2 separate regions of the Homo sapiens genome follow, and region 2 is linked to region 1. The links are contacts of gene promoters, found by promoter capture Hi-C in human tissues and cell types (Jung and others, 2019). All regions are on one chromosome and are shown on one strand. The core of a region is centred on a gene start or on the middle of the fragment in contact, and the rest is flanking DNA. Distances in the headings are between cores, read along the strand shown. Region 1 holds the start of CXXC4 (CXXC finger protein 4). Region 2 overlaps CXXC4-AS1 (CXXC4 antisense RNA 1).

Evidence for each region. The method cuts DNA at HindIII sites, captures the fragments that hold promoters and counts their contacts. A contact is called where the count stands out against the background at its distance.
Region 2: a contact is called between a fragment that was not itself captured here and the fragment with the promoter of CXXC4 in region 1, in 1 of the 25 tissues and cell types used here (neural progenitor cells).

Annotation. Positions count from the first base shown.
Region 1 is chr4:104,493,605-104,496,304 of GRCh38, reverse strand. CXXC4 (CXXC finger protein 4) reads left to right here and starts at 1,411. Exons shown (of 3, transcript NM_025212.4): 1 at 1,411-1,604. The region is part of intron 1 of CXXC4-AS1 (CXXC4 antisense RNA 1); the gene reads right to left. The HindIII fragment of the contact is 3,942 bases long and covers 1-2,494 here.
Region 2 is chr4:104,542,814-104,545,513 of GRCh38, reverse strand. The region is part of intron 1 of CXXC4-AS1 (CXXC4 antisense RNA 1); the gene reads right to left. All of the region lies in intron 1 of LOC124900745 (a long non-coding RNA gene), which reads left to right. Among named protein-coding and RNA genes, the nearest start is that of CXXC4, 49 kb to the right of the region's middle. The HindIII fragment of the contact is 7,596 bases long and covers 1-2,700 here.

The DNA of each region.
Region 1 (2,700 bases), core at 162-2,661:
TTTCAGCTTTTTTTTCTTATTAAAGAAACAAAACATTATATTTTCCTCACTTATCTGAACAATTAATATTGCATTACTCTAGAATAAACACTTAATTTTAATACAAAACTTGTACTCTGCTTGATAACACCAATTTAAATAATCTTAAGTTTTTTCTTTCCTACTCTATAACTTACCTTAGCCACTGTTTTGCTCTTAGAAAAAAAATTATTCAAAAGTATTCATAATTCTGTATCTTATAACTATTTCCACTAGAGTATACTTTAATAGTAGGATAGCATGTGTCCACAAATATTTTATTTGAGGCAGCAGTGAAGAGGTTAATTTACAGCTGCATTTATGAACGAGTTTTATTTATATTTGACGTGCCGTACAATATTTATGTTTCAATTCATAAACTATGTTTTCCCAAGTGGCAAGAAGTGAAATGTTAATTACATACTATTCTAAAATAGACTGAAAGACAAAAGTTTTTGTTTAAGTAAAGTTTGAAATTAAAAAATAGGGCAGTGAGTTAAAAATCTGATTTATTCTTTGGAACTACCAGATGGAATAGTAAAAGAGGATTTTGGGAGGAGAGAGAGAAGAGTAGAGAAGAGAGACAGAGATTGAGATGGATTTTGAAATTGGCCAAGCATCATATCACCGATTTTTTACATTCTGGCATAATAGTACTTCGAGGGTCTGAAGAACCACACCGGTCCGTTTTCCCTTACTTTAAAGATCTAAATGGTATTTTTTTTTAAAGTCTTCCTGGGTACACCAGGAAATTTATTTAAAACCATGCCATTGGGTACGAACTAAGAGCATTCTTCAAACAAACATGACCTTTTCTCTGTTTCTTGTATTGCTCTTCTCAACCCAGCCAGAAATCCCAGACAAGTTTATTTACACACACACCCGCACACGCACGCACACACACACCCCACACGCAGAGTGGCGGAAACGCCCTCTTTCCAACCCTTCCAAACAATTATCTCCGAGAGCAAAAGAAAATAATCAACAGCCCTGTGTGCTGGGCTGAGCCGGAGAGCCGGGCGCGAGGAGGGAGGGCGATCCGCAGGCGAGCAGGGAAAACGTGGCTCCTCTGCCGAGGAGAGGATTTGTGAAAAGGAGCGCTGGCCCGCGTGCGCCTCTTGTTCCCCGTGTAATTTGCAGCCAATCATCAGTAGGTGTCCACGTCCCTGCGTCCTCCTCACCTCGGCGCCAATCACCCCCACCCCCGCGCCCCCGCCCCCAGCCTCCACACCTCCTCCCTCGCCTTTCTCTGTGGCTCCCCTCCCCCAGCAACCGCACACTCGCACACACACAAACAGAGAGAGAAGGGGGGAGGGTGAGAGAGAGGGGAAGAGAGAGAGAGAGAGAGAGGGGAGAGAGAGAGGAGAGACTCCCCGGCTCCCTCCCTCCCTCGCACACAGCGACTGGAGACGGACGGAGAGCAACGCGCTGGGAGAGGAGAGACCACCGACAACAGACCCGCGCTCTCACACATACACTCACACTCGACTCTTTCCTCTCCCCCCACCTCCTCCTCCTTCCACCCCCACCACTAACACCATCTCCTCCTCCTTCTCTCTGCAACAAGAAAAAAAAGCCATTTACAGGTATTTTTTTTGATCCGCATATTTATTTACCCCCCCCCCCCCAACAGTTTGTTTACAAGTATTAAAGTTGTAATTGGGAGCTGCCAAGACACATCTGGATTTGTGTTTCTTTGTGTTAGGGGGTGATGTGCAACTAATTAAAGGCAGACTGGCAGCGTCTGCAAATTCTAAGGCTCCCCAAATAAAAAGAGACTGGTAAGTGATTGTTCTTTCTCTTTCTCTGGCTTTTTTTTCTCTTAAATGTTTGCTGTCCGTTGGGATTGTGAAAGTAGATTATTAATGCTGGACTCCAGCAAGAAAAAGCGTCGCTGTATTAATTTATTAATTAGTCTGCACCCGCCCCTCCTCCTGAATGTTAAATATGACCTTTGATCTCTATGTCTCTGGTAGACCAGACATACAGTATTAGGCATGTAAAGTCACATTGTTTAAAGGCAAAACAGGATCATGAAGTATGGATCTCTAATTTAGCTTTGGCATAGAACTATAGTTATTTGTGTGTGTTTTATTTTGTTTTTAAATAAAATCCAAACAATAGCTGTGGCTTAGATACCTTTTTCATGCTCCAGAGATGCATTGATTAAACAATAATGACCTGGATACTGGGCATAATCATTTTCTACAGTTTCTGGTGGTATTAAACCTTGAGGTAGGAAGAGGGATGGTGATGGCAATCAGAAAAGCAAGGAAAGCTTGTGTTTGGAAACACCACTCTAAGACTCTAAAAAAGGGACGTTAAATTATTTATTTATTTGGAACAAGGTCAAAAGACTAAAAGGTTGAAAATTTTCCCTCCACTCAATGTGATGATATCTAATGCATGGTTGACATAACTAGTTTTTACTGAGTAGCAGTTATTATGGTCTTGCAGTTACAATGTGATTCGCAGAAACTGAAGCTATATGCATATTCTTGCTGTGTCTTCCCTCACCCCTTCCAAGCATCAAGAATATTTAGCCAAGAGCATTTTGGGGGCACCTTTTGTATTGCCCTCAGACCTGAGAAGGCAGCAGTTTTCCCTAATGCGAAACCACAGAGGTGGTTCCTGAGTGATTAGGGACTTGCTGTGATTGAAAGATGCCTGCAAGCTTCTAAT
Region 2 (2,700 bases), core at 58-2,557, 49 kb before region 1:
TGGTGTGTGTTTGGAAAAAACACTCTCTTACCTTTATTGAAAAGAGAAGGAAGTTACATTGGTTATGACAATAAATGTGAATTAAACTCTACTGTTAAAAAAGTAAAATTTTTATTTTGAGTTAAAAATAAATACATATGGAAGCAAGTTAAATGTCAGTAAGGAAGGCAGAATGCTTAAACCATCACAAATTTATAAAATGTTATTCAGCTATAAAAATCACATTTTCAAGAAATATTTAATAATGTTGGAAATTTTATAAAATAATATTTAGTGAAAAAAGTAGAAAACAAAACTAAATATGAGTATCATTTCCTTTCTGTTAAGCACTGTTAGGCATAAAAAGGCAGAGAAAATAATCAGTATGTGACAGTAGTAATTGATAGGTGGCATGATTATACATAATTTTAAGTTTTGTGTTGATTTCAAGATAATATTTAATTTCTAATATTCTATAATGGCCATATTTTACTTTTATAATCAGAAAAATGAATGAAAGAAAGGGACATAAAAGAGCCATTGACAAATCCTGAGACAAATAAGTAAATACGAAGAGAAGTCCTGCAAGAGACTGAGGAAAACAAAAAAAAACAAAAAAACGCAGTGCTGTAGAAGGAATTACCAAGAAAGGAGACATTTTGAAGAGGAAGAAAACAGCCAACCATCTAAAATACTACTGAAATCGAACAAGATGGGGATGAATAGAACCCATTAGAAAAGTCTAATTGAAAGGCTCATGGGTGGACTTTTCAACAGCAGTTCCAGGCCTTGGCCAGAGTTACTTATTTGTCAGAACTTTGGCTGCTGCAACTTATAGAGTGAATGGAGGAAGAAATCATAGTAGATTATTTTGAGGAACTTAACTTTGAAAAGAAGAAAAATTAGGGTTTGTCTAGAAGGTAATATAAAAAAAAAGGTTTTTGTTGTTGTTGTCCTTTGTTTGTTTGTTTTAAGGTATGAAAAATTAGGCAAGAATTGAATGTTACTATAGTGGTAAAAAGCAAAGGATTTGGAGTCAGATGAATCAGCATTTAATTATACGGTAGTGCCATTCTATCCAAGATTACAAACTTTTGTTAATCTGTTAATCTAAAATATAGATTTAAAGGGAATCATAAAATATAACATATTTTTAAAGGTTATTTTAACTGAAAGAATATAAAGGCACATTTCTTCATCAAATTCTCATAGGCAAGGCCTTTTACTTAGTTACTTGCTCTCCTTTTTGAATAAATTACAATCACAATACATCAGTTACAATTTTCAATAGTGAATTCTGTAAAAGTGGAGTTAAAATTTAAAGCCCTTAGAAGAAAAAAACATTTCTTAAATTTTTAGATTTTTTTCTGCACCTAATTCAACTTCGATTTATGATTTAACTTTATCAAGACATTTCCGAGCATTCAGTTTAATTTTCCTAGAAACAAATTTGTTTTCTTTTTTCTTTCATGCATACTTAATAATTTATAGAATATTTATTTAAATTTAAAATGACAACAAGTGAAGTGAATGAAACAACTTTGAGGGCAAATCCAACTGCTTCTTGGTAAACCTATAATTTAACCAGTGAGCACAGGCTATAGACTGAAGACTACAGAAGGGTGACTAGCCAGCTGACAATACTGGGTGACAGCATTATTTAATGTGTTTTAGAGGAATGGAATCTTGATTACCAGTGGGTTGAGTAAGTGGAGGTGGGTTGACATTCTACTGTGAAAGTCATATTTTTACTGAAGTGAACAAACAATTGATCAAATTCCTAATTCTAAAAAGAAACTATACATTGCAATGTATATGACAAAGAAGAAATATTTCTTATCAAAGATCCAACAGTTAAAAGAACATCATTATAACAGACTGTAAATTATATACCTTAGTGATATACAGTGTCAGACATTTCAAAGTGTCAAGTGATTTTAAAAAACTGGAACCACATTAACCAGATATTGAAATATTATTTATAAAAATATGTAAATTTATATAAATAAATATCTATTTAACAACAAATGGAATTTTGAATCCTTTCTTTGGCTGGAGGTTGAAGAGGTATAATTTCAGCAGTAATCTTTAAAGAGAACAATTGAGTGCATATATGTTTAGGATAGTTAGCTCTTCATGTTGCGTTGATCCCTTTACCATTATGTAATGCCCTTCTTGGTCTTTTTTTATCTTAGTTGGTTTAAAGTCTGTTTTATCAGAGACTAGGATTGCAACCCCTGCTTTTTTTTGCTTTCCATTTTCTTGGTAAATATTCCTCCATCCCTTTATTTTGAGCCTATGTGTGTCTTTGCAAGTGAGATGGGTCTCCAGAATACAGCACACCGATGGGTCTTGACTCCTTATCCAATTTGCCAGTCTGTGTCTTTTTAATAGGGTATTTAGCCCATTTACATTTAAGATTAATATAATTATGTGTGAATTGGATCCTGTCCTTATGATGCTAGCTGGTTATTTTGCCCATTAGTTGGTGCAGTTTCTTCATAGTGTCAATGGTCTTTACAATTCGGTATGTTTTGGCAGTGGCTAGTACCGGTTTTTCCTTTCCATATTTAGTGCTTACTTCAGGAGCTCTTGTAAGGCAGGCCTGGTGGTGATAAAATCTCTCAGCATTTGCTTGTCTCTAAAGGATTTTATTTCTCCTTCCACACTTATGAAGCTTAGTTTGGCTGGATATGAAATTCTGGGTTGAAAATTCTTTTC